Regions from separate parts of the Homo sapiens genome. Here regions 1 and 2 are each linked to region 3. Evidence: promoter capture Hi-C in human tissues and cell types (Jung and others, 2019). All regions are on one chromosome and are shown on one strand. Each heading gives the region's core, a stretch centred on a gene start or on the middle of the fragment in contact. The rest is flanking DNA. Distances are from core to core; before and after follow the strand shown. Region 1 has its middle 33 kb from the start of ABCC4. Region 2 overlaps LOC124903193 (a long non-coding RNA gene). Region 3 holds the start of SOX21 (SRY-box transcription factor 21).

Region 1 (3,568 bases), core at 650-3,149, 620 kb after region 3:
TGAGGCAGGAGAATTGCTTGAACCCGGGCGACAGAGGTTGCAGTGAGCCAAGATTGTGCCACTTCACTCCAGCCTGTGCGAAAGAGCGAAACCCCGTCTAAAAAAAAAAAAAATTATGTGTCAACTTGATTGGGCTAAAGGATGCCCCAATAGGTGGTAAAATATTATTTCTGGGTGTGTCTGTTAGGGTGTTTCCAGAAAATATTTTCCTTGGCATTAGTAGACTGAGTAAGGAAGGTCACCTTCACCAACATGGGTGGGCACCTTCCAACTCACTGAGGGCCCAAATAGAAGAAAAAAGTGGAGGAAGGGCAACTTTGCTGTCTCTGTGTGAGCTGAGACATCCATCTTCTCCTGCCCGCAGATATCAGTGCTCCTGATTCTCCGCGCGTTTGAACTTAGACTGGGATTCACACCATTGCTCCTGCCCTGTCCCTATTCTCAGGCCTTCAGACTCAGGCTGGCACTACTCCACTGGCATTCCTGGTTCTCCAGCTTTCAAGTGGCAGACTATGGAATTTCTTGACCTCCATAATTGCATGAGCCAATTCCTACAACAAATTTCTCTCTCTCTCTCCCTCTCCTACCCCCACCATTGGATCTGTTTCTCTGGAGTACCCTAACTAATATATTTGTCATACAGCAACAGATAACCAACTTATCTTTATTTTTTTTTTTGAGACAGAATCTCACTCTGTCACCCAGGCTGGAGTGCAGTGGCACAATCTCGGCTCACTGCAAGCTCCGCCTCCTGGGTTCATGCCATTCTCCTTCCTCAGCCTCCTGAGTAGCTGGGACTACAGGTGCCCGCCACCATGCCCAGCTAATTTTTTTGTATTTTTAGTAAAGACAGGGTTTCACTGTGTTAGCCAGTATGGTCTCGATCTCCTGACCTCATGATCCGCCCACCTCGGCCTCCCAAAGTGCTGGGATTACAGGCGTGAGCCACCTCACCCAGGCTTTTTTTTTTTTTTTTTGAGATGGAGTCTCGCTCTGTCACCCAGGCTGGGTGCAATGGCGTGATCTCAGCTCACTGGAACCTCCGCTTCCCTGGTTCAAGCAATTCTCCCACCTCAGCCTCCCGAGTAGCTGGGATTACAGGCACGCACCATCATGCCCAGCTAATTTTTTTTGTAGAGATGGGGTTTCACCATGTTGGACAGGCTGGTCTCGAACTCCAGACCTCAGGTGATCCACCCACCTCGGCCTCCCAAAGTGCTGGGATTACAGGCGTGAGCCACCAATTTATCCTTTAAGAGAAGGAAAATCTTAAAACTCTGGTGCTAGTTTATTTATTTATTTATTTATTTAGAGACGGAATCTTCCTCTGTCACCTGGCCTGGAGTGCAGTAGCGCAATCTCAACTCACTGCAGCCTCTGCCTCCCAGGTTCAAGTGATTCTCGTGCCTCAACCTCCTGAGTAGCTGCTATTACAGGCATGTGCCACCACACCTGGTTGATTTTTGTGTTTTTTTTTTTTTTAGTAGAGACAGGGCTTTGCCATATTGGCCCAGCTGGTCTCAAACTCCTGAGCTCAAGCGATCTTCCTGCCTCAGCCTCCCAAAGTGCTGGGATTACAGGTGTGAGCCTGGTGCTAGTTTATAGAAGAAAAAATAATAATACTAATAATAGGTAACCTTATTGTGCACTGATTATGTGCTCAGCATTGTGTTAAACACTCTACACCTGTCAACTTGTTACAACAACCCTAAGAAATGGGTGTTATAATTGTCCCTACATTTTAAATGGGGAAACGGAATCTTCAAGAAGTTAGACAACTTGCCCAAGGTTACACAGTAAGTAACACAGGATTTGAACAGCTAATTATTGTTGTCATTCATGGATGCCTGTCAAATGTGAATAGAGTTGAAGGAAATCTAGGGAGTTCTACTCTAGTGCAGTGACCATGGTACCAAGGGACACCCTGGGCCAACCTGTGGCCTGTGGGCAGGCCTGTGGAAGAGGAGGTATGTGGTATAGCTGCTGTGCCCCATGGGCCCCACGTGTAAGGCCAGCACTGGGGCAAGTAGGGTGGTTCCATTTAGTGTGTTTTGTAAAAAAAAAAAAAAAAGATAAAATATATGTAACATAGAATTCATCATTTTATGGCCGGGTGTGGTGGCTCACACCTATAATCCTAGCACTTTGGGAGGCTGAGGCAGTGGATCACTTGAGGTCAGGAGTTCGAGACCAGCCTGGCCAGCATGGTGAAACCACATCTCTACCAAAAATACACAAATTAGCCGGGCGTGGTGGCACATGCCTGTAATCCAAGCTACTTGGGAGGCTGAGGCAGGAGAATTGCTTGAACCCGGAGGCAGAGGTTGCAGTGAGCCAAGATCATACCACTGCACTCCAGCCTGGGTGACAGAGTGAGACTCTGTCTCAAAAAAAAAAAAAAAAAATTCACCATTTTAGCCATTTTAGGTGTACAATTCTGTAGCATTAAGTACATTCACAATGTTGTACAACCATCACCTCTATCCATTTCCAGAACTTTTCATAGATGAGTATGCTTTTCAATACCAGGAAAGCTTCTGGTATCAATACCCAAATGCTAGCTGGGTGTGGTGGCTCATGCCTGTAATCTCAACACTTTGGGAAGCCGAGGTAGGAGGATCACTTGAGTTCAGGAGTTCAAGACCAGTCTGGGCAACATAGGGAGACTCCATCTCTTCAAAAAATTAAAAAGTTAGCCAGGTGTGATGGTGCACACCTGTGGTCCCAGCTACTCCAGAGGCTGAAGTAGGAGGATCACTTGAGCCTAGGATGTTGAGACCAGCCTGGGTAACACAGTAAGGTCCTGTCTCAAAAATAAATAAATAAATGAAAACTGCACACCTCAATACCACCAACAGCATTCTCACTAGCTAATGTTAGGCTTTTTTTTTTTTTTTTGAGACTATCTCTGTCACCCAGGCTGGAGTGCAATGGCATGATCTTGGCTCACTGCAGCCTCCATCTTCCAGGTTCAAGGGATTCTCCTGCCTCAGCCTCCCCAGTAACTAGGATTATAGGTGCACACCACCACGCCCAGCTAATTTTTGTATTTTCAGTAGAGACGAGGCTTCACCATGTTGACCAGGCTGGTCTCAAACTCCTGACCTCAAATGATCTGCCTGCCTTGGCCTCCCAAAGTGCTGGGATTACAGGCGTGAGCCACCATGCCCGGCTTTTTCTCTCTTTTTTTTTTTTAGACGGGGTTTCGCTTTTATTGCCCAGGCTGGAGTGCAATGGCACAATCTCGGCTCACTGCAACCTCTGCCTCCTGGGTACAAGCGAGTCTCCTGTTTCAGCCTCCCAAGTAGCTCAGATTACAGGCATGTGCCACCACGCCCGGCTATTTTTTTTTTGTATTTAGTAGAGACAGGGTTTCACCATGTTACTCAGGCTGGTTGTGAACTCCTGACCTCAGGTGATCTACCGGCCTCAGCCTCCCAAAATGTTGGGATTACAGGCATGCGCCACCGTGCCCAGCCTGCCCGGCTATCTTAAAGGACTCAAGAAGCAAGGCCTTTCATTCCATAGTTAAAGACAGATTGAATGTGGCTACCCCTGGGAGAGGCAC
Region 2 (3,913 bases), core at 105-2,604, 690 kb after region 3:
CGGCCTCCCAAAGTGCTGGGATTACAGGTGTAAGCTACTGCACCCAGCTTCTATCTTTTTAATGGAAACATTTTAAATTAAATTCAGCCTCAAACTGTCTTAACTCTGCCTCTCTCTATTGCCACCACATGTCCTGGGCTGCCATCATCTTTCACCTACAGAACTACAACAGCCTCCTAAAAGAGACTTAATAATCTGTACAACAAACCCCCATGACACCAGTTCGCTTATACAACAAATCTTCACATGTACCCCAAACCTAAAATACAAGTTAAAGAAAAAGGACTTGTGGCTGGGCATGGTGGCTCACAACTGTAATCCCAACACTTTGGGAGGCCTAGGCAGGTGGATCACCTGAGGTCAGGAGTTCGAGACCAGCCTGGCCAACATGGTGAAACCCTGTCTCTACTAAAAATACAAAAATTAGCTGGGTGTGGTGTCACATGCCTGTAGTCCCAACTACTCAGGAGGCTGAGACAGGAGAATCGCTTGAACCCAGGAGGCAGAGGCTGCAGTGAGCAGAGATTGTGCTACTGCACTCTAACCTGGGTGACAGAACAAAAGTCCATCTCAAAAAAAAAAAAAAAGGTCTTGTTTAACTATTAGTGAGAAAGGATGTCGAAATCCCCAAGAGGTTTGCTCTCGTCCAAATTTGAAGAGCTTACAATAATATCACTATTTTGAATTTGTGATTTGAACAAAGGATTAAATAAAGTTGTGCTTTGCTCAATAATTTCTGGTTAAGCTACCAAGTTAGCTCCTTTATTTTATTTATTTTTTATTTTTGAGACACATTCTCTCTCTGTTGCCCAGGCTGGAGTGCAGTGGCACCATCCTGGCTCACTGCAACCTCTGCCTCCTGGGTTCAAGTGATTCTCCTGCCTCTGCCTCCTGAGTAGCTGGGATTACAGGCGTGCACCACCATGCCGGGCTAATTTTTGTATATTTAGTAAAGATGGGTTTTTACCATGTTGGCCAGGCTGGTCTCGAACTCCTGACCTCAAGTGATCTGCCCACCTTGACCTCCCAAAGTGGTAGGATTACAGGTGTGAGCCACCGCGCCCAGCCCAAGTTAGCTCCTTTAAAAACATATTTTGGGCCAGGCACAGTGACTCAAAAAATATTTTTAAAGGAACTAACTTGGTAACTTATGTTCCCAATACTTTGGGAGGCCCAGGTGGGAGGATCGCTTGAGCCCAGGAGTTCAAGGCCAGCCTGGGCAACATAGTGAGACCCTATATTTATGAAAAATGAAAATATTAGCTGGGCATGGTGGTGTGTGCCTGTAGTTCCAGCTCCTCAGAAGGCCGAGGTGGGAGGATTGCTGAGCTCAGGAGGTCAAGGCTGCAGTGAGTTGTGATCGTGCCACTGCACTCGCAGCCTGAGGAACAGAGTGAAATCCTGTCTCAAAAACTTTTTTTTAATTAAAAAAAAACGTACTTTGAAGACACCTACACACAGATACATACAGCTGTGTACTATAGGCATAGCTTCCATTTGAACCAAGTCTTTTTTTTTTTTTTGAGACGGAGCCTCACTTTGTCACTCAGGCTGGAGTGCAGTGGCACGATCTCAGCTGACTGCAAACTCCACCTCCTGGATTCAAGCAATTCTTATGCCTCAGCCTCCAGAGTAGCTAGGATTACAGGCGCCTGCCACCACACCCGGCTAATTTTTGTATTTTTAGTAGAGATGGGGTTTCACCATGTTGGCCACGCTGGTCTTGAACTTCTGACCTCAAGTGATCCACCTGCCTCCGTCTCCCAAAGTGCTGGGATTATAGGTGTGAGCCACCGCACCTGGCCTGAACCAAGTCTTTAAGAGGGAGAATTCTGGGTGTGTTGGACTGGAAAGGAAAGGAAGTAGTTCTGGGCTTTTCCTTGGTGATCTTGGGGAGCCCACCCCTACCCTGGCAAGGGCCTTGGCATCCAGCTTCAGGTAGACCTCAGACCACAGGGGATACAGCATGGAGTTCCCTGTGTCCACCTGTGCCCTGACCTCTGGGTAATTCTCAGACAAAACCCACAGTACTTTAGGGGCCAAGGGCAAGCTTCCCCTTCACCCTCTGAAGGCTCATGGAAAAGTCAACTGACAAAAAGCAGGTTAAGAACAGAGAAGGCATACAAATTCATTAATATGCATGGGAGTCGTAAGACCTCAGATACATGGCTGGATGGCTGATGCTTCTTTTTTAAAAGTTTTTTTTTTAATTTAATAGCTATTTTTTTAGAGATGGAGTCTCACTCCATCACCCAGGCTGAAGTGCAGTGGTGCGATCATAGCTCACTGGATCTTTGAACTCCTGTGCTCAAGCGATCCTCCCACCTCAGCCTCTTGAATAGCTGGGACCACAGGTGCACACCATCACATCTGGCTAATTTTTTGTTTGTTTGTTTGTTTCTGAGACAGGGTCTCACTCTGTCACCCAGGCTGGAGTGCAGTGGCTTGACCATGGCTCATTGCAGCCTCAACCTCCGGGCTCAAGAAATCCTCCCACTTCAGCCTCCCAAGTAGCTGGGACTACAGGCATGCACCAGCACACTGGGCTAATTTTTATATTTTTAGTAGAGATGGGGTTTTGTCATGTTGCATATATATATACATATATATGTGTATATATGTGTGATATATATATGTATACATATATACATATATATATGTATATATGTATACATATATATATATATATATTTTTTTTTTTTTTTGTAGAGACGGAGTCTTACTTTGTTGCCCAGGCTGGTCTCAAACTCCTGGCTTCAAGCAATCCTCCCACCTTGGCCTTCCAAAGTGCTGGGATTATGGTCCCACCTTGCCCAGCCTGGTTGATGCTTTTCTGTAACCATCTTGAGGTTTCAGAAAAAACGAGGGCTTGGAGCAAGACCAGACAGGTTATGGGAAGGAGAGAAGAGGGGGCTTGGCTTACAAAGGTCATCTTGTTATGTAGATGAAATCTCACAGGTAGCAGCTCTCAGAGAGAAGAGATGGTGAATGTTCTTTTCAGATGTTTAAAGGTGTCGGACTCTCAGTTCATCTTTCCCAGATTGGACAATGGAAGGCCTCAGGGAAAGCCTGGTTGCACCCGTGTGGATTTTCTCTACAGGTGCAAATCTCCCCAACAAAGGGTAGCTTTGCAGCTTTTCCTTTATTTCCAGACCTTCTGAATAGCCATGTTGTACCATGTCAAGGAAATCTATTTTGGGGTGAAATATTTCAGTTTCCTTCAGTAATTTTGGAGGTGATGTTGAGTTGTAGGAGGGGGAGATAAGATTATTATTTTTCCTACATAAACTACTGTCATTGAGTACCATTTTTCTATTGCCTCTACCACACAGAGAAGAATGTATCAAGCACTCTAGTAGGCACTGCAGTATTTACAACTGAGAAAATAAGCAACTGGAAATATAAAAATTGTTACCTAGGGACGGGCAGGTGGCTCATGCCTGTAATCCCAGCACTTTGGGAGGCCAAGGCGGGTGGATCACTTCAGGTCAGGAGTTTGAGGCCAGTCTGGCCAACATGGTGAAACACTGTCTCTACTAAAAATGCAAAAATTAGCTGGGTGTGGAGGTGCATGCTTGTAATCCCAGATACTCGGGAGGCTGAGGCAGGAGAATCACTTGAACCCAGGAGATGAAGTTTGCAGTGAGCCGAGGTCACGGCACTACACTCCAGCCTGAGCAACAGAGCAAGACTCTGTCTCAAAAAACAAAACAAATTAAAATACAATAATAAATGAATAAAAATTGTTACCTATTTATTTTGGAGGAAACATATCTTGCCTAAACCCTAGCTTTCATTCAAAATGAATGATATATCAGAATGTCAGCCAAATTATAGCTAAGATTCATTTTCCCTATGAGTCTCTGTTTTGTTATGATTACAGCCTACAGCACCACTCAATTGTTAATGGTAA
Region 3 (3,856 bases), core at 513-3,012:
GGGGGTTGGGGGGCTGAGGGGCGAGGAAGAAGAATGAGAAACAAAAACAAAACCGACCATGAAACTTCCAACAAAACTGGAAAGGCCAACATGTCAAAAAGTTACTCCTCCACCTCCGTGGGTCAAAACGCAACAGGTTCCGAAGTGCAAAGCAAACGCCAACTGCTGCCGCACACAACCGCCTGCTTTCGAGTTGGCTGCCGAAGTGCGGGTCTGAAATGATCCTGCGAATTCACAGGCCTGCTCGCCCGCGCCCTTGCGCGCTTGGCCACTCCTGCCCCGCCTGGCCTCTCTGCCTCTACCTGGCACCTATACATTCTATGTACATACAAACCGGGCCCCCGGTCGCGGGAGGGCGCACGGGGAGGCCGCAGCGCTCGTACCTATACATATGTACACGTGTGCACACCGGTCCTCGCGAGGCGGCCCCGCGGGGTCATAGCGCGGCAGCGTAGGCCGCGGGGTAGGGGTCCAGCTGGGGCTTGCCCATGCCCGGCAGCAGGATGTAGGCGAGCGGCGGCTGCAGCCCGGGGCTGGGCCACGCGCTGCAGTTGCACGGGATCATGTAGCCCGGGTTGCCCGGGCTGGGGTGCGAGTGCGTGTGCCCCCCGGCGGCGGCGGCCGCCGCTGCAGCCGCCGCCGCCGCGCCGTGGAAGGCGCCCGCGCCCGCGGTCGGGTAGCCCAGCGACGACGCGTACGGGAGGCCGGACGAGGACGACGAGATCTCTGCCATTTTGGAGCCCAGGTCGAGCAGCGAGTAGGGGCTGCCCGCGGCGGCGGCGGCGGCGGCAGCGGCGGCGGCAGCGGCCGACTGCGGGAAGAAGACGCGTGCGGCGGCAGCGGCGGCGGCCGCGGCCGCCTTCTCGGGATTGGCGAGCAGCGACTCAGGCACCAGGCCGCCGCCCGCCCCCGCGTGCAGCCCGGCGCCCGCCTTGAGCGCAGGGTGCTCGGCGTCCGCCACGCCGCCCAGGCCGTAGGGCACCGGGAAGGCGAACTTGTCCTTCTTGAGCAGCGTCTTGGGCTTGCGCCGCGGCCGGTACTTGTAGTCGGGGTGCTCCTTCATGTGCATGGCGCGTAGACGCTTGGCCTCGTCGATGAACGGCCGCTTCTCCGACTCTGTGAGCAGTTTCCACTCGGCGCCCAAGCGCTTGCTGATCTCCGAGTTGTGCATCTTGGGGTTCTCCTGGGCCATCTTGCGCCGCTGAGCCCGCGACCACACCATGAAGGCGTTCATGGGCCGCTTGACGTGGTCCACCGGCTTGGACATGCTCTCGCCCTGCCGCGGCTGCAGCCCGCCGCCTCCCGGGCCCTCGCCCTCGGCCCGGAGGAAATCAATGTTGGCTGCCCGCGGAGACCCGCTCGGCCGGCCGGGGCTCGTCGCGCCCCGGCGTCGCTCCCGCCCCGGAGGAGGGGGCTGGGGGACCAGCCCAGGGCCACGCCGCGCCCCGGGCCGCCTTAGTGTCTCCGGCCGAGCGCTCGAGCAGGTTGTCTCTGGGACACTCTAACTTCTCGGCGGTGCCCCCTCCCCGCGGCGGCAGTTTGCCCTTTACGTTCTTTGGGTCCTTCGTCTGCAGTGGCGTTTGCTGGTGAGCTCCCCGCAGGTAGCGGCGGCCGGGCAGAGCGCTCCTCCTCCTCGGTCGTTCTCTCTTAAATGCAAAGCGTCCCCAAAAGTTGCGTCGCGGAGACTCCTCGAAGTTGAGCCGAGGAGCCCGCCGCCGCGTGCTGCCAAGTGCCAAAGGGGGCTCTCAGCGGCTGGAGTGTTTGGGTTCTCCTCGGTGACTTTCTCATTTGACAGAAGCAGATGGGGGTGGGGAAGGCGGGGAGGTGGCCCTGGAGGAGGAAGAGGAGGGGGAGGCGGAGGAGTGTCCAGGCGTGCCACGAGAACGCAGAGCGCAGCAATGGATATAAATACAAATACAGCAGCACCAGCCTGTCTTCTTGGCTCCGGGCAGGGTGCGCCGATGGGAAACCCCCAATCGGCTGGGTGATTTTTTTTTTTTGGAGGGGGGAGCTGTCCCCCGCAGCACCTGCCTCTCGAGTCTTCCTCTCCCGCTGCTGGACTGACGGGTGGGGCGAGGAAGGAGGGTGGATGAGGCTTGAGCAAGCGTTGGTCGCCCGGCCTCAGAGGAAGTTCTCCCGGCTCGCCGAGGAGCCGCGTCCGGCCGTCCCCTGGGCCATGCCGGCTCTGTTCGCTCCGAGCCCCTTCAGGCGCGCCTGCCGACTTAGGGCTCCCGGAGCTCGCCGGCCGCGGAGGGCAGCGCAGCCTCCACGCGGCGCCGCAGGCCTGGCACCGGCCGCGTCCCCGCCTCGCTCTTCTCGGCAGCCGCCTGGCACTTGCAACTAACTTCGCCCAAGTTTCCTGCGCCGCGGCGCCCCTCTCGGCGCGCTCCTGGGAGCGTGCGCCCGCGAGTCCGCCGCGCCCGGGGCCCCTCTGTCCTCGCTGCTGTGGCCAGAGCCGAGCCGGCGCAGGGGCGGAGGTGCTGCAGGAGAGTTAAGGAAAACGGGCCATCACCTCAGTTCGCAGGTCCGCGCTGTGGCACCTCCCGCTCTCCCCACTCCCGCGGCGCAGGGGGCCCCTTCCCAGCCCAGGCCGCCCTCTGCACCGGCTCAGGTGAGTGTGGCTACCTGCATGTGTGCGCGCCCGGAGCCGGCACTGGGTGTGCATGTCCAGCCGCGGCTGTGTGTGTATATCTGGGGGCCTGCGGAGGAGGTGGAGCCCAGGACTCGGGGAGGGAGGAGGGATCAGCGGAGCCGCCTCCCGCTCCCACACCCCCAGGACCTCGAATTAACAGATCCCCTCCGCCCCCCGCCCCCTCCCAATCCTCCTCCTCCCACTCCTTTTCACTTGAGAGCAGGTTTAGGCGAGTGGAGAGTCCGGAGCGCGCCGGGGAGTCTGCGCCCTGTTTGGCGTTGGCAAACCCTGGTGTCATCCCGGCTACCCAGGCCGGCCTGGCGTGCAGCTGCCCTGGTTGTGGCCCTGGAATCCTCGCCGGGAGGAAGAAGGCGGCGGGCACGAGTAGGAGAGCCTCTCCAGCTACGGAGGAAGAGGGTTAAACCTGGAGAAGGGGAGACTCACCCTTGAAAATGTTTGAGACTGTTCCTAGCAAGAAAGTGCTCATTTTCCTTGGAGGTCCAGGTGTTGCTTGCAACAGAAACAGAGGCTTCTCGCATTTTCTTGCACTGGCGATGCACCTAGTCAGAGGTAGTGGAGTGAAAAATAACTCTGGAGGGAATAAGGACATTCTTGGCAACCTTTCCAAAAAAGAGCTAGCCCAGACTGAGAGTATGCATCCTTGACTGACTATTCAGCTCTTTAAAAATTCTGTGTTGTTTGTCTTTTGTTGTAATCTTGGTCGCCAGAACCATCTATATACTGATCTCTTTAAGGTACAGTTAACTTACAGTGTCTCACTTACATGCGCTGCTGAGGTGAAGGTGTTTAAAATCAATAAGTGTAAGTAGTTTCCCTGGAAGAGAGAAGTAAAACGTACCAATCACTCAGTGCTGGAATATTTTTATGCTAAGCATAATTTCCTTCTTTAGTAGTTAGAGCAGTTTTTTAAAAAAAATAGTTAACACGATGCAGAAGTCAAACAGCATGATTCTGTTTCCGTATTTTCCTCACTTTTTGGTATGCTGCGGCACATTTAGAACATGATCTGTCTGGAGGTTTTATTCACATGGTGGCCTGCCCTTCAGGGAGAACTTGCTTGCCTTCTTTCTTTGGCAGTTTGGATTTGACCTAGCCCTGTGGTATGTGCAAGTAGGAACATCTACAAACGGTTAACTCTTTAAGTCTTCCTACGATTTATGTTCAGTTCATTCACACACACACACACACACACACACACACACA

Evidence for each region. The method cuts DNA at HindIII sites, captures the fragments that hold promoters and counts their contacts. A contact is called where the count stands out against the background at its distance.
Region 1: a fragment that was not itself captured here is called in contact with the fragment with the promoter of SOX21 in region 3 in 1 of the 25 tissues and cell types used here (lymphoblastoid cells).
Region 2: a contact is called between a fragment that was not itself captured here and the fragment with the promoter of SOX21 in region 3, in 1 of the 25 tissues and cell types used here (lymphoblastoid cells).

What each region holds. Positions count from the first base shown.
Region 1 is chr13:95,332,270-95,335,837 of GRCh38, forward strand. No RefSeq gene overlaps it. Among named protein-coding and RNA genes, the nearest start is that of ABCC4, 33 kb to the left of the region's middle. The HindIII fragment of the contact is 3,544 bases long and covers 128-3,568 here.
Region 2 is chr13:95,398,448-95,402,360 of GRCh38, forward strand. The region is part of intron 1 of LOC124903193 (a long non-coding RNA gene); the gene reads right to left. Among named protein-coding and RNA genes, the nearest start is that of ABCC4, 99 kb to the left of the region's middle. The HindIII fragment of the contact is 4,621 bases long and covers 1-3,665 here.
Region 3 is chr13:94,710,783-94,714,638 of GRCh38, forward strand. It overlaps SOX21 (SRY-box transcription factor 21), which reads right to left and starts at 1,763. Exons shown (of 1, transcript NM_007084.4): 1 at 1-1,763. The coding sequence starts at 1,267. The coding sequence ends at 437. It overlaps SOX21-AS1 (SOX21 antisense RNA 1), which reads left to right and starts at 1,934. Exons shown (of 2, transcript NR_046514.1): 1 at 1,934-2,611; 2 at 2,856-3,856. It overlaps LOC112268114 (a long non-coding RNA gene), which reads right to left and starts at 2,661. Exons shown (of 2, transcript NR_158368.1): 1 at 2,626-2,661; 2 at 1,938-2,480. RefSeq lists an enhancer at 2,487-2,988. The HindIII fragment of the contact is 11,141 bases long and covers 1-3,856 here.